7 separate regions of the Homo sapiens genome follow, and all the other regions are linked to region 4. The links are contacts of gene promoters, found by promoter capture Hi-C in blood cells and fetal thymus (Javierre and others, 2016). All regions are on one chromosome and are shown on one strand. Each heading gives the region's core, a stretch centred on a gene start or on the middle of the fragment in contact. The rest is flanking DNA. Distances are from core to core; before and after follow the strand shown. Region 1 overlaps ICA1 (islet cell autoantigen 1). Region 2 overlaps ICA1 (islet cell autoantigen 1). Region 3 overlaps ICA1-AS1 (ICA1 antisense RNA 1). Region 4 holds the start of MIOS (meiosis regulator for oocyte development). Region 5 overlaps ICA1 (islet cell autoantigen 1). Region 6 overlaps ICA1 (islet cell autoantigen 1). Region 7 overlaps ICA1-AS1 (ICA1 antisense RNA 1).

Region 1 (3,501 bases), core at 519-3,018, 690 kb after region 4:
TCATTAGGTGAGGCCACTTCCATGGCTTCAACTGCCAGCTGTATGCCAACAACTTCCAAAATCACACACCTCTCCAGGGCACCAGATCCACATTTCCACCTCCAGATGGTAATCTTCACCTGGATTGTTCCACAGGCACTTCAAATTCAGCACATCTAAAACTAAACTCCTCTTTCCATCTGCACTCTCAAATTCTTCTTTCTGTGGTCCCTATGTTAATTACCAGCACTAAATGTACTGAATGGCCTAAGTTGAAAACCTCACTTCTTTCTCTTTTTTTTTTTTTTTGGCAGGGTCTTGCTCTGTTGCCCAGGCTGGAGTGCAGTGGCACAATCATGACTCACTGCAGCCCTGACCTGCTGGGCTCAAGCAATCCTCTTACTTAGCCTACCAAGTAGCTGGGACTACAGGCACATACCACCACACCCAGCTAATTTTTTAAATTGTTGGTAGAGATGAGTTCTCACTATGTTGCCCAGGCTGGTCTCAAACACTTGAGTTCAAGCAATCCTCTTGCCCTGGTCTCCCAAAGTGCTAGGATCACAGACATGAGCCACCACACCCAGCCTCTTTCATCTTTTGCAACCAGTCTCCAGGTTCTCTCCATTCTACCTCTTAAAAAGCGATTGAATGCATCTTATCTTTTCTATCTTCACAGCTTAGGCCTTAAGAGGCAATGCTATCTGTGTACCTGTCCATTCCAATCTTTACAACACTGCCCGACCTATCACTATATGATGCAAATCAAATTTTTCCACTCTCCTACTTAAAATGTTTTAATTGCTTTCTCTTGCCACTAGAGAAATTCCAAACATTTTTTGAAAAAACACAGGCCCCTTTACATCCTGGCTCCCTTCCCCCCAAATCTTACTCTCCTCCCCACCCTCCGATAGAACTATTCCCTCTGCGCATGTCAGAACGCTTGAGCTTCCCTGAATATACTATGCACTTCAAGGACTTGAGATGATTCTTTCCACTTGGAATGCCCTCCCCCTCCTTTGTCTGATTGCCTAACTTAGAATTTACATCAAGACTCTCCTCAAATGTTGCCTCTTCAGTGAAGTATTCCCAACTCAACATCTCGTCTCTATCCCTCTCCCCATGGGTCTTGCACTCCAGACCTCCCCACTGAAGAGTTAACTGCTCCATACTGGTGGTGCCACTGCACTCCTGTACTCTCCTTCAAGGAGCTAATTACATCTGTATCTCCTGCACTAGACTGTAGGTCCCATGAGTACAGGGACCCTCAAGTTCATCTTTGCCTCCTTAGCACCAAGCATGGCCCCTGGAGCACAGTAGCCATTCAGTACATATGTGCTGGGCAAGGGGCAATAATTATGTTCTACCACTTACCAAGCACTTTACATGTGTGAAGCACTTAACATCATTATGTCATCGCCACACATTATGAAGGGGATATCAACCCATTTTGCAAGTGAGAAACAAAGTTTAGAAGGACGAAGTAATTTACCCAAAGTCAACAACTGGTAAACACAAGTTTACTTTTGACTTCTGAGCTCCTGTTTTTAACTACTCTGCTCTACTCTTGGATGAAAGGAGCTTGATTAATGGGGCTGTTTCAATAAAAACAATCTCCCCCAATCACAGGCTTAGGTGCTGGGTTAGGCCCAAATCCACTGCCAATATAGTGCTACTGTGCACAACAAAACCTGCAATTGCTGATTGATTTCTTCCTTGATAGTTGTCAGGGTTCCTATGACTAAGGAGAGGGGCACTATTTATAAATATCAGCTTCTTGGTTTCTGGCTTAGAATGCTCTACCCTGGAAATATCACAGAGAAGACCGGATTTTCCCCTAGGTACTATTAGGTTTCAGAAACTGATGTCTATGCCCTGTTCTGGGAACAGAGATGTGGCAGTGAGTGTGATCATGATGATGGTAAGAGATGGATTTCAATATGTATACTCTTGGAACATTGTTGCAATACTTAAGAGTCACTTCTTGTACAAATACTTTCACTAACTAGAACCAGAGGACCTTTCTAGTCTCCAATCTAGACTCTTAAAATTAACAATGACTACTATCTATATATTCAGTGGTCCATCACTGAACACATATACCTCATATTTTCCACTCCACAGAACTATATTGCATTCAGTCACCCTCTCTTAATTCATGTATTTTCTGCTAAATGTATTCTAAAATTGAACTCTGCAATGTTCTCTGATTCTAATGACTTTTTAATATTAGTCCCCTATTTTCTACTAATACCTCCACCACCTCCACAACCATGCAACGAATATTTAGAATCAGTCCTGTGCTTACACTAATTAGTGCATCTAATCCTCCTGAATCACAGATGATCAGACTTGTCCAAGGCCACTCAGCTAGTAAGGGACACACATAGACACTGGGCTCCAGACACGAGGACTATTTGTATTAGCATTCTCTCCCTTACTTGTTGACTTTTGTACACACATACACATGGTTGGGAGTGGGGAACGCTCTTTCTCCCCACTCCCAACCCTTATTTACCTGCTGAATTCCTACTGGTTGTTTCAGGCTCAACTCAAGGGCAATCTCCTCCATGAAGCATCTCAGGGTTTCTCTGCCCTTTCTCCTGTTGGGGTGGGATGCCCCCGCCCTGGGCTGCATTACCACCTGTGTCTCTATCTCCTTCTTGCTTTCCCTGAAAGGCAATTGGTTAGTTGACTCCTCTCTTTCCCTCTTTTACTCAGCTGTACGCTCCTCCAGAGCATGGTGGGGTCTGAGTCTTGGGATTCTGAGTGTTTAGCACAGTGTGTAGCTCATGGCACATATACAACCAATGCTTGTTCAATACTAAGTCATCCCACTTCTCTGATTTGGTCAAAGGCCTGATGGATGATGTCATCTGACTTAGCAAGAGAGACAGATGATTCCCATCATGAGTGATGCAGGCCATCATTTCCCCACCTTTTCATGAACTCATTCTAGCTCACTAGGTTTACACTGGGACAAGGAGTTACCACTAATTGAGGAACTGCCACTTCTCAGACACTGGGGTGTATGCTTCACCCACATCACGGAGTATCCTCGCAATACGGCCAAGTTGACATAATGATTTATATTCATTTCACGAAGAAGTTTAAGTTCAGTTATCTTAAGCAACTGGCCTACAGTCACATAGTAGGCAGGCTTTGTTATAAAAACAGGTATAAAATGCCCTATCACATGTAGTCTTCCCTGTCCTGGAGAGATTCATTAGTTATTTGTGAAAATTACTTACAGGTCAAAAAACAAAAACTATGTTAATTTGATGCTATAATACTAAATAGTAAATTGCTAGAATAGTGAAAGTGTGGTCAGCCAGGATTTTTAGAGGCTCCAAGGCAGTTCTACCATATGCATCTATCCAGGGCAAATCATGCCTGCAGTCCTTATCAGACAGATGGAGATTATAATATCTACTTATCTCAAAGGGGGTTGAGTATCACATAAGATCATAGTTGCCAAAGTGCTTTGTGAAGGAAGAGGACAGAGGCTCATTTTAGAGTAGT
Region 2 (3,672 bases), core at 628-3,127, 650 kb after region 4:
ATGAAATATGAGCAGAAGCATTTTGAAATGGTATAGGAAGGGGGACCAGCACATTTACTGAGAGGCTGTCGTGTGTTAGCACTTTCAGATAGGTTACATGATTTAATCCTTGTTAAAAAAACCTTGAGGATACTATACCAGAAATGAAAGTGATGAAGTAGGTGTAAAATTATTATAATGTTGGCTATAACATATGCCCTTTACCCAGCCAAAAAACATTTAAGGCATATTAAACTTTGGATAAAATACTTATCTTGGGGAAAAACACTGCTTCTTCCATCTCCCTACCCAAAAATGAGCAATGTCAGATGAATTATACTCTTAAAATATACTCTTCTTCATGAAGTTTCAGGGCACAGGTGCCAAAAAATGAATATTTAAATTTCAATTTAAATGCAAACTTATTTAGCTAAAGGGAACAATGGTGTCAGTGAACTGAAGTCAGCTTTTGGAAATTCCATCAACGTCTGCAATGCCTTACGTGCGTGTAGCACGGTAAGATTACAAATGGTGCAATGAACTATTTAAGAAAAAATTTCCTTTTACTATTTCCCCTAGTTTTCTTCTTCTCTGTAAAGTATTGTTTTTAAATATTGAGTACTTGTATAAGAATAACCTGCTCACACTGTCCTACCTAGATGTTGCAGATTATTTTCAAAGACATTGTTGTGCCATAAAGTAAGCTTGTTATCCCTGTTGGTTTAATTTAATACTCACCTTTCATCAAATAGAATATATGGCTGTTGCAATGACTACCAAATAAGTCTGTAAAACAAACACTGGTGTGAAGGTTTGTGTAACTGATGACTTCTACTTAAAGACATCAAGAGTCCTCAGCTATCTCCCTAACTATTCTATTCATTTCTAGATTCTTTGTTTCTCTTCCTTTGCCTAAGAATTTTTCTCACTGAAGTTAGTGATAATTATATGTTTAACACATGACAACTTACTCTATGAAATATTTTTTTAGGAATCAATTATTCTTGCAAGGTTGGAAAAGGTCCTATATGCACAGAAAGTATCTATTAAGAGGTTAAAAGTAGATCATTTTATTAGTAAAAATTTTAGTTGCTTTTTAATTTTCACTTTTTGGTTTGTCTCTATTTTAAAATTTTTCTAGAATGAATATGTATTTTTACATAGAAAAATTATAAATAATACTAAATGGTAAGATTTAAGATGATAAACAAATACCTTTCTTGGGAAATGTGTGGAGAACTACTAGAAATGGTTTCATTCAAGCATAAAAGTTGGCATTGCCCCCAAAGTCAGGGTCCAAATGTCATCAGGAAGAACCAAAATGCCCAGGAGAAGGCATCACTGAAAAACAGACACAGCAGGTCTCTTTTTTCCTCCTCTTTCTTGGGTTTTCAAAGGAACAACCATGTACCATGCTGCTGGCCTGCTCTTGGCCCACACGGAGGGAAAGCAGCAAGGAGACATTAACAGAAGAAAATGTTGGACAATTTGAGTAAGTGAAATTTCTATAGCTTGAATATTTGTGGGAACTACCTACATTCTGCCTACTACTAGTGAGTGACATTTTGGGGGTTTGTTAGTTACTGGGAGAGAAGGGAACGAGGAGGAGTGTCACTTTTCTCAGGCGCAGAGAGTGACTGTGTGCAGGGGCTCCTGCTTATTTAACATCCACCATAAAAATGAGTCACGGTTGTGTTAAAAAAAAATGCCACTCATCTACCACAATTTTCCCTGTACCAGAGCTTCGCAAACTTGAATTTACATCAAAACAACAGCGGTCTAGTTAAAATGTGGATGTGGATCCTGCATGTCTGGGGTAGGGCCTACATTCTGCATTTCTAACACACTCCCGGGTTATGGTCCAGGGTCTGAGCAGTGTGGACCTGGGCATGAGAACAGCACCTCTCTGAAGTTAATTGGTCCACAGAGAGCAGAGAGGGAACCCTTCAACCTGGTCTCATTAGGCTCCTGCTTTAATCAGCTGCTGGAAGGGGACCAGACTGATTGCTACAAGCAACACTGAAGGTCAAACATAAGCCTAGGACAGCACTCATAGTGATTGACATATATAATGCCCCTACAGACCAACAGAAAAATGAAAAAAAATTTTTTTTAATTAATAGGGAGGAAAAAAAAATCCTATGTGTTAATCTTAATTAGAGAGTTAAGTACAAACTGCCTAACTAGTGAGTACAGAGCAGCTCCTCAGCCTCAGGCAAAATCCTTCTAAAGAACACTGTGAGATTCCCTTTCGTGAGTAGGTGGGTCCCGGAGTCTCCTCAGATCCCCCCAGATAGAACCCCACTAAAGGCCACACACCTTTGCTGGGAAGAAAAGCAGAGGGCCTTTCCTGTCGCTTGCATCATCTTTCCTGCTCTGGTTTTATCTTGGAAACCTTGGGATCGAAGAAATTTTCCCAGTTCGTTTTCTTCTTGAGACAAGACTGATGAAGAAAAGACCAAAAGGAGCCATGAACAATGAGCATTTTGATTGCAAAGGGAACAAGAAAGACAAATCACAAGGTCCTCTCTCTTCCAGAGGCGAAGACGAGATGAAATTAAATCTAAGCGGCAGGCTACAGGGTAAGCTCCCCCTACCCCCCATTTAACTTTCAGGCTGTTCTTCCATTTACAATACGAGAGATCAAATTCACTTGAATACATCTGTCAGTGAGTTTGGTGCCCTGTAATCAGAACTAGAAAATGACCTCTGTACTGAAACGTAAGCCCATAGTGTGCGGCTTCGAGCTGAAATAAAGGAGTTGGGTTTGTCAAGTATGACTGTGGGAATCTTTTGTGGCTGCCTAGGATGCAGTGCTAGCTGCCTCTCATTATTCTCTCCTGCTGACTTTTGATCTCTGCTTTTTGAGTTACATTCTATTCCATTGTAAAGCAATTCAAATACCTCAGCTGTGACACAGGTTTTTGGTTGGAAGTGGGGGTAGGGACGGAGGGTGGGGAGGTCATCAGGTTGATGACAGTGGGTTTTAAAAATACAGAGCTGGAACCAAATCTGAATTGGTGATGCCTAATCTTGGCCTTATTTTTAAAGACAACCTCAGATGGTATTATTGGTGGGTAAGTGATTTGGTGCAAGCTTTCTGCAGACTGATTTGACGGTAAACATTTAAAAAATCATAGAATTACATGTATCTTTGGACTCTCCATGTCTACTGTTAGGAGAACTTCCTAAGGAAGTAGCAAAATGGGCACAAAGATGTAAATGCAAAAACAATCATAGCATCATTATTTATAATAGTGAAACACTCTCCTTATACTAGGAACTAGTTTAATAAAATACAGCATACCCACATAATGGTACAGTGGGGGTCCTGAACACACACCAGCAGCCAAGCCACAGGCACCAGAGTGACACTTAGCTTCCTCGGATGTGCTTTCCCCCTAAACACAGCATTTACTATCAACATACTTTGAACACTACTTTTATTTCCTATTTCTGTATTGATGTATTTACATACCCTGTGTCTCTAAAACTGCTTTCTAAATGCTACTAGGATTCTTGTCAGCTTTCACAAACCAGTCACTTTTCTTTAAGAATGCACCCCCATTCCTGACATAATCTCACTAACAATAATTGTAGGACATTAGGCAGGAACCACAAATCCAAAGGTGAAGGCTAAACTCGATACTGCTACCTTATTAATTTGTGACTATAGTTTCACCCTAAACATTC
Region 3 (3,264 bases), core at 140-2,639, 730 kb after region 4:
CTCAATTTGTGATGTGTAGAATCTTAATATTTCCTTTAGTGCAGAGTGACCGGCACCTCCAGTTTAATCCTTCTCCAAAATGGTTAACTCAGAATTCTCACCATTCCCAGTCTCGGTCTCCACCATGGTGCTTTAATTCTCTTTTTTTCAATACTATTTAAAAGTATCATCATTGGCCGGGTGTGGTGGCTCACGCCTGCAATCCCAGCACTTTGGGAGGCCGAGGCAGGCAGCCACCTGAGGTCAGGAGTTTGAGACCAGCCTGGCCAACATGGTGAAACCCCATCTCTGTTAAAAGTAAATAAATAAATAAATAAAAATACAAAAATTAGCCGGGCGTGGTGGCACACACCTGTAATCTCAGCTACTTAGCAGGCTGAGCCAAGAGAATTGCTTGAACCTGGGAGGCAGAGGTTGCAATGAGTAGAGATTGTGCCACTCACTCCAGACTGGGCGAAAGAGTGAGACTCCGTCTCAAAAAAAAAAAAAAATTATCATCATTATTATCTTGTCTGTTCCTGGTTCTTTCCTTACTATGTAAGAGAAGCAACCCAAGTCGCAGTGCATTTAAATGCTTTTCCTAAGGCTCTAGTAAGGGCAGTTAGAAATGGAAGCCGGAACTTTAGATGGTCTGGAGCGTGGTCTGGAGTCTTTACAACACACCCAAACTATCCGCACACATGGAAGGGTGAGAACCTCCCTATCCAATTCCTTTGCATCAGCTCCTCCTTCCTTTATTGTCTATGGCTTCTGGGACGATTGTGAATAAGAGAGTGATCCAACAACAGAATGTGGAGACAACCTCTCTCCCCTCTGTAGCTGTGTCCACTTTGGCTTTTGATACAGGGAGTAGAGTCACAGACAGGCATGTATTCACTTTAGTTTCCCTAGGAACGCAGACAGGTGGTTCAGACAGAAATCAGAATTATTTATACATGACTGTAGGAAAATATTTATTCAGGGAACTCTGACCATTTTATGCTTGAATCATTTATATTCTCTACTATTTAGAGCTGCAGTTGGCCTTGCTATCATTTATTTATTTGTACATTGAGTCAGTGAAGATAAATTTTCTTAATTTTTTTTTCCTTTTTTTTTATTTTATTTATTTATTTATTTTTATTATTATACTTTAAGTTTTAGGGTACATGTGCACATTGTGCAGGTTAGTTACATATGTATACATGTGCCATGCTGGTGCGCTGCACCCACTAACTCGTCATCTAGCATTAGGTATATCTCCCAATGCTATCCCTCCCCCCTCCCCCAACCCCACAACAGTCCCCAGAGTGTGATGTTCCCCTTCCTGTGTCCATGTGATCTCATTGTTCAATTCCCACCTATGAGTGAGAATATGCGGTGTTTGGTTTTTTGTTCTTGCGATAGTTTACTGAGAATGATGGTTTCCAATTTCATCCATGTCCCTACAAAGGACATGAACTCATCATTTTTTATGGCTGCATAGTATTCCATGGTATATATGTGCCACATTTTCTTAATCCAGTCTATCATTGTTGGACATTTGGGTTGGTTCCAAGTCTTTGCTATTGTGAATAATGCCGCAGTAAACATACATGTGCATGTGTCTTTATAGCAGCATGATTTATAGTCCTTTGGGTATATACCCAGTAATGGGATGGCTGGGTCAAAAGGTATTTCTAGTTCTAGATCCATGAGGAATCGCCACACTGACTTCCACAATGGTTGAACTAGTTTACAGTCCCACCAACAGTGTAAAAGTTGTTCATATTTCTCCACATCCTCTCCAGCACCTGTTGTTTCCTGACTTTTTAATGATTGCCATTCTAACTGGTATGAGATGGTATCTCATTGTGGTTTTGATTTGCATTTTTCTGATGGCCAGTGATGGTGAGCATTTTTTCATGTGTTTTTTGGCTGCATAAATGTCTTCTTTTGAGAAGTGTCTGTTCATGTCCTTTGCCCACTTTTTGATGGGGTTGTTTGTTTTTTTCTTGTAAATTTGGGTTCACTGTAGATTCTGGATATTAGCCCTTTGTCAGATGAGTAGGTTGCGAAAATTTTCTCCCATTTTGTAGGTTGCCTGTTCACTCTGATGGTAGTTTCTTTTGCTGTGCAGAAGCTCTTTAGTTTAATTAGATCCCATTTGTCAATTTTGGCTTTGGTTGCCATTGCTTTTGGTGTTTTAGACATGAAGTCCTTGCCCATGCCTATGTCCTGAATGGTAATGCCTAGGTTTTCTTCTAGGGTTTTTATGGTTTTAGGTCTAACATTTAAGTCTTTAATCCATCTTGAATTGATTTTTGTATAAGGTGTAAGGAAGGGATCCAGTTTCAGCTTTCTACATATGGCTAGCCAGTTTTCCCAGCACCATTTATTAAATAGGGAATCCTTTCCCCATTGCTTGTTTTTCTCAGGTTTGTCAAAGATCAGATAGTTGTAGATATGCGGCGTTACTTCTGAGGGCTCTGTTCTGTTCCATTGATCTATATCTCTGTTTTGGTACCAGTACCATGCTGTTTTGGTTACTGTAGCCTTGTAGTATAGTTTGAAGTCGGGTAGTGTGATGCCTCCAGCTTTGTTCTTTTGGCTTAGGATTGACTTGGTGATGCGGGCTCTTTTTTGGTTCCATATAAACTTTAAAGTAGTTTTTTCCAATTCTGTGAAGAAAGGCATAGGTAGCTTGATGGGGATGGCATTGAATCTGTAAATTACCTTGGGCAGTATGGCCATTTTCACGATATTGATTCTTCCTACCCATGAGCATGGAATGTTCTTCCATTTGTTTGTATCCTCTTTTATTTCCTTGAGCAGCGGTTTGTAGTTCTCCTTGAAGAGGTCCTTCACATCCCTTGTAAGTTGGATTCGTAGGTATTTTTTTCTCTTTGAAGCAATTGTGAATGGGAGTTCACTCATGATTTGGCTCTCTGTTTGTCTGTTGTTGGTGTGTAGGAATGCTTGTGATTTTTGCACATTGATTTTGTATCCTGAGACTTTGCTGAAGTTGCTTATCAGCTTAAGGAGATTTTGGGCTGAGACAGTGGGGTTTTCTAGATATACAATCATGTCATCTGCAAACAGGGACAATTTGACTTCCTCTTTTCCTAATTGAATACCCTTTATTTCCTTCTCCTGCCTAATTGCCCTGGCCAGAACTTCCAACACTATGTTGAATAGGAGTGGTGCGAGAGGGCATCCCTGTCTTGTGCCAGTTTTCAAAGGGAATGCTTCCAGTTTTTGCCCATTCAGTATGATATTGGCTGTGGGTTTGTCATAGATAGCTCT
Region 4 (3,441 bases), core at 650-3,149:
CATGGGGTTCCTCCTCTTACTCTTTGTCACCTAAAAGAAGGTAAGAATGGTAGTGAATCAAGATGTTGGAGGAGGGAAGGAGGAAGCAGTGGGAGGTTGTGCAAATTCTAGCTAATAGTTTTAATTTTCTTTTCTGAAGTAGGAGGCAGTGTCATCTCCTGAGTGCAAGCAGAAAAGTTGTCCTCAACTATGTATAGTAGGAGTGGATAAGGAAGAGATTTGTATTGATCTGAGGTTTTGTGTGGGGGTTTGAGGCCAGGGTCAAAACCACTGAGAAGATTGGCAAGATAGTGTTTGAAGTGATGAATACTGTCATGTCTCCTCTCAGTAATACAGCACTTTCTTCAGCCTACATTCTTCTAATGGCAGGATTGGAAAGGCAATACTTTCCCCAAACTCATCATCTTATCAAAACCATCTGCCACCAAGATCATCAGGACTAAGCTCATTATGCTGTTTACAGCCATCACCACCACAAGCCCAAGACCACCCACTTTTAATCATGAACAGACAAGCAAAGACTGTCAGACATCTGAAGACTGCCTCGAGGTCAGACTCGTGACACCTGAGGCAGCACCATTCACTCAGTTTTGGGAACAAAAAACTTGGAATCCTCTTTCACCGTCATTCACTTGGTCAGTCACCAAGCTCTGTTCATCCCGCCTTCTAAGTATTCCCCAGGGCCCCCACTTCTCTCCATGCCCACTCTCCGTGCCACTGGTAACCTGCGTTTCTATCATCCCTCATTCTGATACTCTATCCCTCCAGCTCTCTGCGCAAAAACTGATCATACTGGCCGGGCACAGTGGCTCATGCCTGTAATCCCAGCACTTTGGGAGACCGAGGTGGGCGCATCACGAGGTCAAGAAATGAGACCACCCTCGCCAACATGGTGAAACCCCATCTCTCCTAAAAATACAAAAAATTACCTGGGCGTGGTGGCGCGCGCCTGTAGTCCCAGCTACTCGAGGTGCTGAGGCAGGAGAATCGCTTGAACCCGGGAGGCGGAGGTTGCAGTGAGGAGAGATCGCGCCATTGCATTCCAGCCTGGCGATATAGCCAGACTCCGTCTCAAAAAAAACAAAACAAAACAAAAAACTGATCATACCACTTGCCTGATTAAAAACTTTCGATGACTCTAACATTGCCTTTAGGTAAATGCCATCCAAACTCACTAAACTGGTTTCCAACCCGTTTCTGAAAGCACCTTAATCTCTCCCCACTTCCTCTGCTCATTCATCCATACCTACTGCCTCCTCACTGCTATGTCCTCTCTCCTGACCCGGCACTTGCTCTTTCCCAGTCCTAGAAGGCTCTTCTCTTCCAGTTCCCACTGCCCTTTTCCCTTTCCTGGCTAATCCCATACTCATCCTTCTTGTCTCAACCTAGTGGTCCTTAAGGAAGCTTTGCTGACCCCCGACACCGAGCGGGCGTCCCTCCTGTGTAGCACTGTGTTAGCCCTACCAAGTCAAGGCTCTCCTTGCCTGTTTCCTGCCGGAACCATGTCTTTTTACTTCACTCCTGTCTCCTCAGCATTCCAGCACAGTGCTGGGTACATAACAGGTGCTCAAGACAAGTTTGTGGAATGACTAATGAGTGAATAAATCATTAACCAAACACCTTGGATCTCCTACTACATCATTTGCAAAAAAAAAAAAATGTTTAATAGAAATTAAAATGGACCCAGTGAGCTAGAGTGTGTGACCCTGCTTAAAAACGACAGAGTGGTTCTGAGAAGCAGTCCCAGCCTAGGAACCCGGGGATCCGGCCTGTGGACCCACGGGCAGGGCCTGCGGGGTGCACCGGCGCTTTCGGGCGGAAGGCGGGGCCTCCCGGCCAGTGACCCCGCCCCGAGGCGCCTCCCGGGCGGGGAAGGGCGGGGCTCGCGCTGGGAAACTCCCCTTCCAAGGCCGAGGCGCCGCTGCGCGTCCTCCAGGCGTGGTGGTGGGGTCGTGGGTCCCAGCCCAGTGGTCCAGGTCACGGGCCGCACGGCCGCGGCCGCCATCTTGCCCGCGTCCGGGCTCCTGCGGCGGGCGGGGCGGTGTCCCGGCCGGAAGCGGCTGTGCGGCGGCCGCGCTGCCACCTCAGGTCAGTGAGCGCGACCCGGTTCGCGTCTCGACTCTCGGGAGCGCCGCGGCCGCAGCGAGGGGCCGGAGATAGCCTAGTTGAAAGGCCCGGGCGTCTCGGCGGGGAGCGCGTTCCGCGCTGTAGGGTAATCGCGCCGGGCGGCCGGCCGCCTGGCCGGGCCTCAGCGGGAGCCACCGGGGGCTGCGGGCGGCCGTGGGACCTGCGGAGACCTCCTCGGGGCGCAGGGAACACGCTACAGCCTTCGCCGCGGCGGGCTTGTGGGGAGCGGCGTCCCAGCCTTTCCCGGGAGGCTCAGCCAGGTGCCTGGAGCGGGAGAGTCGGACTCAGATTCCTGCTTTACCTAGAATAGCAACGTGCCCTGTTCCCGTTGTACCCTCTTAAATACTATACTTCTTAAACGGCCTGTCTCCCGGTGAGCTCTGTTCTCTTCTCATATGAGTAATGAAAATTAAGAGGATGAATGAAACCTCACACATGTTGTGGACTTTGCTGAATAGGTTAGCAAATGACTGCAGGCCTTTTGTATATTTTAAGGGAAATTTGGATATGTGCAGTGCATCTCCTCGAAGATGCTGATGGTGGAAATTTCTTGAAACCGCTCTCGTAATTTGCCACGGTAAGAAAAGTAAAAGACAACATCAAAAAGCATGTGGTTGGATCCTTTGTACACTGAGTAGTATTTTAATGTGTTGGACTTCACTGTCCAGTAGCCACATGGGATTGAGATGTGCTATAAGTGTAAAATACACATCGGATTTCCCAGAGTTGGTGCCAAAAAAACGTAAAAATCCTCAATAATTTTTGCATTGATTACATATTGAAAGGATAATGCTGTTGATATGTTGGCTAAATAAAATGTGTTTTTAAATTTCATTCCACCTAATTTTACTTTTTAAATGTGGCTACTAGAAATTTTTAAATCATATGGCTCACACTGTATTTCTTTTGGACAGTGCTGTTGCAAATATTCTGGTGAATGAACACAGAATCAGCATGGCTTTCCTTTGCTGAGAAATCACTGATGGGAAGTGAGACTTGTTAAACTTGAAAGGTGAGGATATAAATACAAGCTGTAATTATTGCAGACCGCACCCCTTCTACACCTAATTTTTTAATGTCTCCAAAATTTGGAAAAAACATTAACTTTCAGGGCTGATTAAGGGAATGGTAGTAATACTAACATCTGTGTGATGTGAAGAGCTCATTTCAGTTGATTGTCACAGCTTTGTGAGATGGAAATGGGATAGATTTTATCTCGGTTTTATGGTTTTGGAGTATTACAAGATTTGTTAGGATCTGAGCTGGGGAGTGGCTGTAGGATTTCTGACTCTAGATTGTTTTCTTTACACCAGA
Region 5 (3,613 bases), core at 866-3,365, 670 kb after region 4:
GTGAAGGTATAAAGAATTGCTTAGGAATGATGAACACTAAGTTCCAGACAGCAGACCACGGCAGGAGATGGTGTGGGATGTGATGTGAGAGAGATATACAGCAGCTTCAAGTGCACACATAGTGTTCTCTTTGTGAAGCTAGGTGGTGAATATATTGCATCTGTATGCCTCCTTACAGATTTGAAATATTTTATAATCAACATTTTTAAAGAAACAAACCAGCACATTGCAAAAATAGAAACAAAAATAGAACAAAATTTTAAAACCCCAAATAAAAACCAAAAAAGGGTTGATATGCTTGAATAAGATAGCAAGAAGGGCACAAAGGTGGAAAATAGGTATCTACCAGCCTAGCCTTGTATATTTATCTCGTTAGTAAATACTGGAGTCAATGTCTCTGCCCTTACTCCATTTGCTCCACTCATGGAAGCTAGCCCACCCCAGGGCCCACCAGCCCAGCCACATTAGCCCACTTGCCAGCAGTTACTGGAAAGAACAGAAAGCTCACTACTCAAAGGAATGGTCACTGGCCAGAGGCAAAACCTCTAGCTGCCAGAGTGAGTGCTCACAGCATATGAATGCCCAGACTGCTTCACAAAATCAATCCAATCATTCTCCTTTGGTCTCAGAAAGGATCCTGGCAACCAGTACTCCTAAAGTGATTAAAGCTTTCCTAGGCTATTTAAAAACATTTCAAGGGGACAAAATTACGATGTGCAAATCCCACGCTTCAGGTATGCAGACAAGAGAGAGGAAGAAGAGAATTTCCAGAGTGTCAGATGCCTCTGATATGACAGCATCCTGCAGTGAACATCTCTCTTCCTTGTGGAGAGCATCCAAATATCTGGACGAGCTGCTTTTGGGAATGACATTCAGGGTAAGTAAGTAAGCTCTGCCCTCCACTCAGTGCATCATGGAGAGGCTACCAACACCCAGTCCTCTCACCACCCAGACAGCTTCACTGTAAGTACACATTTACTTTAGTTAGCTTGAAATTTCCAACAAATTTTTTCATAAAAAGAGGGTGTTCAAAGGAAATGGAATTATCATATTCTTCTCTTGAGTTCAATGTCACCATGAACTATTAGGATAGTTGGTACTTTTTGATTAATATTTTTATTATGGTAAAAAAGTTTATTCTTTTAATTTAAAAGTGTACAGTATAGTAGTGCTAACAATATACACTTTGTTGTACAACAGATCTCTAGAACTTTTTCATCTTGCATGATGGAAATTCTACACCCATTGAACAACTCCCCATTTTCCCCTCCCACAGCCCCCAGCAACCACTATTCTAGTTTCTGATTCTATGAATTTGACTACTTTAGATACCTCATAAAAATGCAAACACTCAGTATTTGTGTTCTTGTGATTGGCTTATTTCACTTAGCATAATGCATTTAAGGTTCATCTGTGTTGTAGTATATGACAGGACTTCCTTTTTAAGGCTGAATGATATTGCATTGTATATGCAATGTTGAAGACAGACACACACACACACACACACACACACACACACACCATTTTCTTTAACCATTCATGTGTCAATGGATATTTAGGTTGCTTTCACATCTTGGCTATTGGGAATAATGCTGCAATAAACACAGTATACAGTGTCAAATTCATTGACAGGTTCTTGGAAGCTGCAACTATAGGCAAAGTGATATACACAGGTCCAGAATAACACTGTTTCATAATAATATTGATAAGAAAAAAATGGCTTATGTCGTTTTGCCTAAAGTTGCAGTTTCCAAGAACTATCAATGACATTAAATGAGGTCTTAATGTATCTCTCTGAGATCCTGTATTCAATTCTTTTGCACAAATACACAGAATTTGGACTGCTGGATTATACAGTTCTCTACTTAATTTTTTGAGGAAACTGCCTATTGTTTTCCACAGCAGCTGCACCATTTCAAGCCCACTGATGGTATGCAAGGGTCCCACTTTCTCCACATCCTTGTTAATGTTTGTTTCCATTTTTAAAAATAATAGCCATCCGAAGCATTGTGAGGTGATATCTCATGGTTTTGGTTTACAGTTCTCTGATTAGTGATGTTGTGCATCTTTTCATATTTTTTTGCCATTTGTATATTTTCTTTGGAGAAATGTCTATGCAGGTCTTTTGCCCATTTTTAAATTGGGTCATTTTGTTATTGACCCAACTTAATTTGCAGGAGTTATTGCAGGAGTTCTCTATATATTCCAGATATTGATCCCTTATCCAATATATGGTTTGCAAATATTTTCTCATATTCTGTAGGTTAGCTTTTCACTCTGTTGACTATTTCCTTTACTATGACTTTTTAATTAATTTTTGCTTATTAAAATGCCTTTTAATTTAAATCCTTCATAGTGTAAGTTCTTATAGTATGTGTTATTTATAGTTATAGTTAACAAAAATTGCTGAGCAAATTGCCCCTTCTACCTAGATTTCCAGGCTATTCCCAGATCATGATACCATACGGCAGTGTTCCTCAAGGTATTGTTTAACAGCCACTTGCATTGAAATCTTCCGGGGATACTAATATACAGAATCCTAGACCCCACTCCTTTCCTAGTGAAATAGCATCTCTGAGAATGATTCTGGGAATCTAGTTTTATAATAGGCTTTGCAAGTCATTCTTAAGCACATTAAAGTATGAGAACCACAGCTAAATGGCACACAGGGAAAATATTTTTGGAAATTGGTCTTTCTTGAACAAACTACTGGATCATAGGCACAGGAGCAAAGGAATCATAAGTGGTCAAAATAAGGTCAGCTCTGCAGGGTACATCTGAACGCCTCATGAGAAGGCAGCTGGAGCCAGTGCTAACATCTCTTTTTATATATGTTCTAACTCTACATACCAGAGACAATTAATAAACATCTTAAGATTTCCTGACATAATCTATCTTGTTTTGCTCTATCACTTTCCAAATCCACAGCATTTAAATTGCTACTTTAAAAAATCATTATAATTGTTATCCATTCATTTCAGTTCAACAGTTTGGTTTATCAGACATAAACTGAGCATCAAATGAGTACATGCCAGTCACTCTTCCTGGCCTCAAATATAGATCAGCTCTGTCCAATAGAAATAGACTATGAGCACATTCCAAGACGGCCGAATAGGAATAGCTCCAGTCTGCAGCTCCCAGCGTGGCTGACGCAGAAGATGGGTGATTTCTGCATTTCCAGCTGAGGTACCTGGTTCATCTCATTGGGACTGGTTGACAGTGGGTGCAACCCACAGAGGGTGAGCCGAAACAGGGCAGGGCATCTTCTCACCCAGGAAGTGCAAGGGGTCGGGGGATTTCCCTTTCCAAGCTGAGGGAAGGCATGACAGACTGTACCTGGAAAATCGGGACACTGCCGCCCAAATACTGCACTTTTCCAACAGTCTCAGCAAATGGCACACCAGGAGTTTATATCCCACGCCTGGCTCGGCAGGTCCCATGCCCATGAAGCCTTGCTCACTGCTAGCACAGCAGTCTGAGATAGAACTGCGAGGTGTCAGCCTAGCTGGGGCAGGGGCGTCTGCCATTGCTGAGGCATGAGTAGGTAAACAAAGCGGCCAGGGAAGCTTGAACTGGGCGGAACCCACTGCAGCTCAGCAAGGCCTGTTGCCTC
Region 6 (3,410 bases), core at 107-2,606, 630 kb after region 4:
GGAATCAACCGAAAATATATGTTATACATAATGATTTTATCAGAAGAGTATTCCCTATATTTTGGAATGATGTATTTCTATCAACTTTCTTTTGAAAATTAAAATTTCTAAAAGTTGTGTATGTAACAAACAATACAGATTGTGGTATACCACAAGCCAAAATATGGAAGCAGAATACAAGCTAATGGCCTATGGCAGAAAATGTGGTTTGCATAAATGTTACCCATTGTCACAAACATCCACCCATCCTGCGCTGCACACTGTGCTACTTCATGCTCCTTCTCTTGTGGACTTCTATTCTCTTTCTCCAGGTTGAAGGGAAATCATCCACATACCTGCTGAGATGGTATCAACCTCAACCTGTCTCCTAGCAGAGGAGACAATATGAGCAAAGCATTGTTTGGAGAAAATCAAGTAGCTTGATGTTATTGCAACAGAAAATATGAGGCTGAAAATAGTGTGAATTAAAACCCTAGATTTGGACCAGAGTGAAACCACAGAGGGCTTTGTGGGATGTTGAGGAGCTTGAACTCAATCCTGTGGCCTTGGCAGTTACTTTGCAGAGACGTTGATGTGGTTGGATTTGGGTTTCATTTCAGTCACACTGGGGTATGTGGAAGGCAGACTTGAAGCAGGAAGCCAAGCCAGAGACTGGTGGTCCAGGCGAGCGTCATAAGGCCTGAACAAGAGCCGAGATGACAGACTTAAGAAGACATAGATCTGGAAAATATTTGGAAGGTCAAAATATGCTAATCTGATGATTTGTTGGATGTAGGAGGTGTGAGAGAGTAAGGCATCAAGATGTTCTTTAGGTTTCCAGCCTCAGTGACAATAAAGGGAGCAGTTCTGCACAGCAAAGGAAACAACAACGTGAAGAGATGACCCACAGAATGGGAGAAAATAATGTGCAAACTACCTGACAATGGATTAATAACTAGAGTATATAAGAAGCTCAAATAACTCAATAGGAAAAAATCTAATAATCTGATATAAAAGTGGGCAAAAGATTTGAATAGACATTTCTCAAGACACAGAAATGGCAAACAGGCATACAAAAAAGTGCTCAACATCGTTCATCATCAGAGAAATGCAAATCAAAATGACAATGAAAGATCATCTCACCCCAGTTAAAATGGCCTTTATCCAAAAGACAGGCAATAACAAATTCTGGCAAGGATGTGGAGAAAAGGGGAACCCTGATAAATCAGTACAACCATTGTGGAGAACTGTCTGGAGGTTCCTCAGAAAACTAAAAGTAGAGCTACCATATGATCCAACAATCCCACTGCAGGGTATATACCCAAAAGAAAGGAAATCAGTATATCAAAGACATATCTGCACTCCTGTATTTGTTGCAGCAAATACAGGCTCTTGGCTGTTCACTACAGCTATGATTTGGAAGCAACCTAAGTGTCCATCAATAGATGAATGGATAAAGAAAATGTGGTACTTATACACAATAGAGTACTATTCAGCCATAAAAAGAATGAGTTCCTGGCCAGGCATGGTGGCTCACGCCTGTAACCCCAGCACTTTGGGAGGCCAAGGCGGGCGGATCACTTGAGGTCAGGAGTTTGAGACCAGCTTGGCCAACATGGTGAAACCCTGTCTCTACTAAAAAAATAAAAAAAATTAGCCGGGTGTGGTGACAGGTGCCTGTAATCCCAGCTACTCAGGAGGCTGAGGCAGGAGAATTGCCTGAACCCAGGAGGCAGAGGTTGCAGTGAGCCAAGATCATGCCACTGTGCTCCACACTGATGACAGAGCGAGACTCTGTCTCAAAACAAAAACAAAAAACAAAAGAATGAATTCCTGTCGTTTGCAACAACATGGATGGAACTGGAGGTCATTATGTTAAGTGAAATAAGCCAGGCACAGAAAGACAAACATTGCATGTTCTCACTTATTTGTGGAACCTAAACATCAAAACAATTGAACTCATGGAGACAGAGAGTAGGATGGTTACCAGAGGCTGGGAAGGGTAATGGGAAGTGGGAAGGGAAGTCGGGATGGCTAATGGGTACAAAAAAATAGAAAAAATGAGTAAGACCTAGTATGTGATAGCACAACAGGGGGACTACAGTGAATAATAATTTAATTGTACATTTTAAAGTAACTAAAAGAGTATAATTGAATTGTTTATAACACAAAAGATAAATGCTTGAGGAAATGGATACCCCATTTTACACGATGTGATTATTATGCATTGCACGCCTGTATCAAAACATCTCGGGTACCTCATAAATACATATACCTACTATGTACCCACAAAAAATAAAATTTAAAAAATTAAAAAGTACATCAACTGAACATTTATTCAGTTAAAGCATAGTGCCATGTGTTTCCGGGATGACAGAAGTAATTAGGGCTTCTTAAAGTCTTTGAGAACCTTTAGCACAGTTGAGCAAAAAAAAAAAAAAAAAAAAAAGAACAATTACAAAACAATATATTAGAACAATTACAAAGTACTATATTAATGAAAAAGTGAACTCGTGGAAGTTTGGATTTTATGCCAGATTAAAGAAGTGGCCATAAGTTGACATGGAGGAAATAAAGGAACAGATTGACTTCCTGTTTGGGGGACGCAATCATGAAGGGCACGGACATAAGAGCAAGCACATGCCATGTGAAGGTTGACAAGTATGGAAGGGGCCTTGCTGGGAATCAGAGATGAGACCGATGAGGTCTCATGGAAAGGGAGCAAAAAGAACACTTGAATATAGGAAACTGGATTTACTAGACTGTAGTTGACTACTGAAAATCATTTTAGATTCTTCAGTATAATGAAAGAGTTTCATGAAGATTTAAGCCACAGTTATGAATATTAGTTGAGTTTTGAGCTGGTAATCCTGGATCCATCTACTAAATGTCCAGCCAAACAGGATAGTTTCATAATTTATCATTCTTTTCTAATTTCTCACTGTCTATTTCTCAGAAAAGCCATGTCTAGCTTTGGCTCCTTTTGTAACTGTAGACATATTCTGGACTGAAGTGTTTCATGTCTGATCTACTTTTACCACTGCTCTATTCTCTTGATGCCAAAAAACCCCACAAATTTCATTTACTTTAGTGGTCAATGAGTATGGCAGATAAAAACATACTTTCTAGAGTGACAATGCTTGTGTTTTAGTCATAGAAAATTGGGGCAATATTTTTGTAATATATCAACGTGGTTTTCTATTTGCATGTCTATGTGCCTGACCTCCTCCATTGCCAGCCTGAGACATACCTCTCCCTGGCTGTGCCTCTGGATTGTTGCAGGAGAAATACAAAAAGAAAGTTGTACTCTCCAGCTTCTGACAGCCCAAAATTGGGTTCTCAAGTCTGCAGCAAGACAATAAACTTGAAACTCGGGCTTTTTAAAGGATTAGAAAGTGTTTATCTTCCACTTTAGCAGGTGGACTTGATCC
Region 7 (3,641 bases), core at 764-3,263, 710 kb after region 4:
TTTTCTTTATTCACCTCTCACCTTCTAATACTAATTTATGCATGTCCTCTCCTGGTCACCACCCCCCACATTCAGCCTCCTCCTTTTCCTGGACATATATTTACCAAGAACAATCACTGTCTCCTATTGCCAACGCCAAACTTGTAGTGTGTCCTTCAACTCCAGGTTGGAGTCCCCAAGAAACCCCTGGCCCTCCCTTTTCCACTTCCACCATTACTACTGCAACTTTATCTGTATGTCCCAAACAGTTACTAGAGCTCTGAATAAATGCTTGCTGAAGCAAGCTTAAATGAAATCTTTCTCACTTAGAAAAACAAGAGCCATTGGACCTATAACCATGACCCAGCTCAAACATTATGCATTCTCCCACAAGAGATATACTTAGGCAATTAGGTCTTTGAAGGCAAAGACTCTGCCCAGCTTGTGTGTTCCCTTACACATCCACCATAGTGCCTTGAATGTACAATGTTAGGTGTTTAATCAAAGTGTGTTGAATTAATGGATGAGTGAATAGTTTGTATACAACTAGACCCTCTGAGGGTGGGGTGTTAATTCTCTTGGCTGTGTTTTGATAAAGTCTCTCCATTAATTCTTAGCCATTTTTCAAACCAAACTTTGATACTCAATACTACTATTTTATAATACTACATGGTCTGATATTCTCTATTATAGATTTTCCAAATTTACTTTATCCCCCAAATCAGGTAAACACTTGTGAAATATGTACACTCACCAGGCTCCTTCGAAATCAGATTTTTTTTTTGTACAATTTATGGGGTACATGTGCCATTTTGTTACATTCATGGATTGTGTAGTAGTCAAGTCAGGGTTTTTAGGGTACCCATGACCAGAATAACGTGCCCATTAATTAATTTCTCATCATCTGCCCCCTTTCCACCCTCTCACCCTTCCCAGTGTTCATTGCCTATCATTCCACTATGTCTATGTGTACACAATTTTAGCACCCATTTATGGCTGGGAACATGCAATTCCAAATAGAAAACTTTGGTAGAGGGACCTGAGATTCTACATTTTTGACAACTAACTCAGCTGATTCTTATGGCCAGAAGAATCTGAAAACCCTTCTCTATCGTAAAATTCAATGGGTATTAGTTGAGGATAATTATTATATTTGAGCTTTATGTCAAATATAATTCTATGAGTATTAATTTGATGTCAAAACACCTGAACTCCAGTTTCATTCACTACCATCTAGGTGATTGGAGGCTAGTCTAGTTTTTCCCCAACTCTCCGCACATTAGAATCAAAGGGTATCTTTTAAAAATCCCAAAACTTAGGCCACACCCAGACCAACTAAATCTCAATCTTTAGGGCTGCCACACAGACATGAGTACTCTTTGAAGCTCCCCAGGTGGTTCCAACATGCAGACAAGTTTGGAACAGCTGGGATAATCATCTACCCTCTCTAAGCCAGTTTTTTCATATATAAAATGTGCTAATAACTCCCCTCCTAAAATATAATGAAGAGTTAATCTAATTAATGCATGTGAATATACTTTATACATGACAAAACTCCGTATAAACCTAACACATTCTATTTTAGGCTTCAAATATTTTATTTATATTTTTAAATGTATTATAAAGACAGGGTCTTGCTCTCACCCAGGCTAGAGTGCAGTGGCATGATCATAGCTCACTGCAGGATCGAACTCCCCGGGCTCAAGTGCTCCACCTCAGCCTCCTGAGTAGGTAGGACTACAGATCCGCACCCATATGCCTGGCTAATTTTTAAATTTTTTATAGAGATGGGGCCTTGCTATATTACCCAGACTGGTCTCAAACTCCCGGCTCAAGTCATTCTTCTGCCTAGGCATAAGCCACTGCACCCAGCCCAAATTTTTTTTTTTTTTTTTGAGATGGAGTCTCGCTCTGTCGCCCAGGCTGGAATGCAGTGGCACAGTCTCGGCTCACTGCAAGCTCCGCCTCCCGGGTTCACACCATTCTCCTGCCTCAGCCTCCCGAGTAGCTGGGACTACAGGTGCCCGCCACCACGCCTGGCTAATTTTTCGTATTTTTAGTAGAGAACGGGGTTTCACCGTGTTAGCCAGATGGTCTCCATCTCCTGACCTCATGATCCACCCGTCTCAGCCTCCCAAAGTGCTGGGATTACAGGCGTGAGCCACCTCTCCCAGTCCTAATATTTTCCATAAAAATTAACAAATGTGCAGTTAGAAATTTTTGTATTTTTCTGTATATTTACATTTTTTATGGTTATCATTGTGTTTGCCAGTTCAACAGATTAGCTTAGATTCAGCTCGCAAAGGAAACTACCATTCCAAAAGCTGTCCTTACAATTTAGGTACATTTCCATCAGGTGGCAGTAGTGTCTTTGTCCTGGTTGAAAGCAGGAGATCTCAGCCCTGCCAGCTATCAAAGTTTTTCTTGGCTGGGCTTTATCCCCAGATATTTTGATTCAATAGGTGTGGAGTGGGACTGTATGTAGCATCTATAAGTTTATAAAGATCAGCATGTGATTCTGATGCCCTGTTGTTAACCACGGTGAGTTTGATATTTCTGGTTAGGCCTTCTGCTATATCTACCAGATTTAGTCATAGACGTTCTACTTTTTAATGTCAAAAATAATCTCTTCATCATGTAAAGCAGAAACAATTTTAGAATAGTTTTTAAAAGTCTTTAAATTCACATAGGTCCCATTTCTTATTTCTACTACTGTTTAATATTTAATCCTACAATTTTTATTTAAAATGTATCTTAATATATACTCAAACCTCCCCAATGACTATGACCACGACTTGCCTTTTTAAAAAGTCAGAGAATATATGATTCCCTCATGGGCGTGAAGCTCTCTCCTTAGGGCAGAGGTTCTTAAACTTCAGTGTGGGCAAGTAGACCTGAGAGGTTCATTAACAATGTGCATTCTATCTTGAACTAATGGATCAATTCTTGGAGTGAGGCCAATAATTGCACATTGTAAGCCATCTCCCCAGGTTATTCTGATACACACCATATTTTGAGAACCACTAACTCTGGCACTGAGAGGCTGGAGCAGCCTGGGTAAGGTAGAGAATACAGAGAGAGGGCTCACAGAGTCCAGGTGCAGATCTGTAAGAAACTGTGTTCCCTTCTTCCTGTGCTTCATCTTTGTGTAAATGGTGATAAGTGTGCTCTTATTCAGGCCATATCTGGCTCAGTAACCCTGAGGAGTTACCAAGTATTGGTTGGTAAGTTTGCAGCAGAAACCTGCCAACTTATGTTGCCAATCTTAGCATGGAACCTGGGACACGCAGTAACTATTTATTGGTTTACACTGAGGCTATCCTCCTCTTCCTCCTCTGTTACCTTTTCTTTCCTCAACGTAACCTCTTCCATCTATTGTCTTTTCTCCCTGTTGTGTTGGTTTGTGATCCACTCTTGAAGAAACACCCATGTAGATCAGATTTAGACACTAAAAAGAAGAAAATATTTTTCTGAAATCCTATCAATAACAGTGAAATCACCCATTCATATTTAAGTTGCAAGAATAGCATGTTTGTTAATTATCTTGGGTTAAGTTTTTTACTATTATGTACAATTGTATTTGGTCTTCTTTAGTTTCATGACTATGCTTTTATTTTGAGCAGTTTACTTTCATTTACTAGCATCTTAATATATACAGCCTG

The links. The method cuts DNA at HindIII sites, captures the fragments that hold promoters and counts their contacts. A CHiCAGO score of 5 or more calls a contact.
Region 1: a fragment that was not itself captured here is called in contact with the fragment with the promoter of MIOS in region 4 in 3 of 17 cell types (erythroblasts, M0 macrophages and M2 macrophages); the score reaches 6.9 in erythroblasts.
Region 2: a fragment that was not itself captured here is called in contact with the fragment with the promoter of MIOS in region 4 in 17 of 17 cell types (total CD4 T cells, naive CD8 T cells, non-activated CD4 T cells and 14 more); the score reaches 21.7 in total CD4 T cells.
Region 3: a fragment that was not itself captured here is called in contact with the fragment with the promoter of MIOS in region 4 in 4 of 17 cell types (erythroblasts, M2 macrophages, fetal thymus and 1 more); the score reaches 9.0 in erythroblasts.
Region 5: a contact is called between a fragment that was not itself captured here and the fragment with the promoter of MIOS in region 4, in 2 of 17 cell types (erythroblasts and neutrophils). The highest score is 6.7, in erythroblasts.
Region 6: a contact is called between a fragment that was not itself captured here and the fragment with the promoter of MIOS in region 4, in 10 of 17 cell types (activated CD4 T cells, naive CD8 T cells, total B cells and 7 more). The highest score is 9.6, in activated CD4 T cells.
Region 7: a contact is called between a fragment that was not itself captured here and the fragment with the promoter of MIOS in region 4, in 2 of 17 cell types (erythroblasts and fetal thymus). The highest score is 6.0, in erythroblasts.

What each region holds. Positions count from the first base shown.
Region 1 is chr7:8,255,507-8,259,007 of GRCh38, forward strand. All of the region lies in intron 1 of ICA1 (islet cell autoantigen 1), which reads right to left. Among named protein-coding and RNA genes, the nearest start is that of ICA1, 4.9 kb to the right of the region's middle. The HindIII fragment of the contact is 3,608 bases long and covers 1-3,501 here.
Region 2 is chr7:8,218,977-8,222,648 of GRCh38, forward strand. It overlaps ICA1 (islet cell autoantigen 1), which reads right to left. Exons shown (of 14, transcript NM_001136020.3): 5 at 2,299-2,422. Among named protein-coding and RNA genes, the nearest start is that of ICA1, 41 kb to the right of the region's middle. RefSeq lists an enhancer at 2,516-3,072. The HindIII fragment of the contact is 2,392 bases long and covers 682-3,073 here.
Region 3 is chr7:8,297,002-8,300,265 of GRCh38, forward strand. The region is part of intron 3 of ICA1-AS1 (ICA1 antisense RNA 1); the gene reads left to right. Among named protein-coding and RNA genes, the nearest start is that of ICA1-AS1, 36 kb to the left of the region's middle. The HindIII fragment of the contact is 4,184 bases long and covers 1-3,264 here.
Region 4 is chr7:7,564,985-7,568,425 of GRCh38, forward strand. It overlaps MIOS (meiosis regulator for oocyte development), which reads left to right and starts at 1,900. Exons shown (of 13, transcript NM_019005.4): 1 at 1,900-2,088; 2 at 2,623-2,704; 3 at 3,042-3,139. MIOS-DT (MIOS divergent transcript) reads right to left here and starts at 1,081. Exons shown (of 5, transcript NR_110084.1): 1 at 930-1,081. RefSeq lists a silencer at 1,721-2,370 and an enhancer at 2,621-2,690. The HindIII fragment of the contact is 13,372 bases long and covers 1,403-3,441 here.
Region 5 is chr7:8,236,333-8,239,945 of GRCh38, forward strand. The region is part of intron 1 of ICA1 (islet cell autoantigen 1); the gene reads right to left. Among named protein-coding and RNA genes, the nearest start is that of ICA1, 24 kb to the right of the region's middle. The HindIII fragment of the contact is 2,898 bases long and covers 667-3,564 here.
Region 6 is chr7:8,197,933-8,201,342 of GRCh38, forward strand. The region is part of intron 6 of ICA1 (islet cell autoantigen 1); the gene reads right to left. Among named protein-coding and RNA genes, the nearest start is that of ICA1, 63 kb to the right of the region's middle. The HindIII fragment of the contact is 4,758 bases long and covers 1-3,410 here.
Region 7 is chr7:8,275,245-8,278,885 of GRCh38, forward strand. All of the region lies in intron 3 of ICA1-AS1 (ICA1 antisense RNA 1), which reads left to right. Among named protein-coding and RNA genes, the nearest start is that of ICA1-AS1, 15 kb to the left of the region's middle. The HindIII fragment of the contact is 3,463 bases long and covers 283-3,641 here.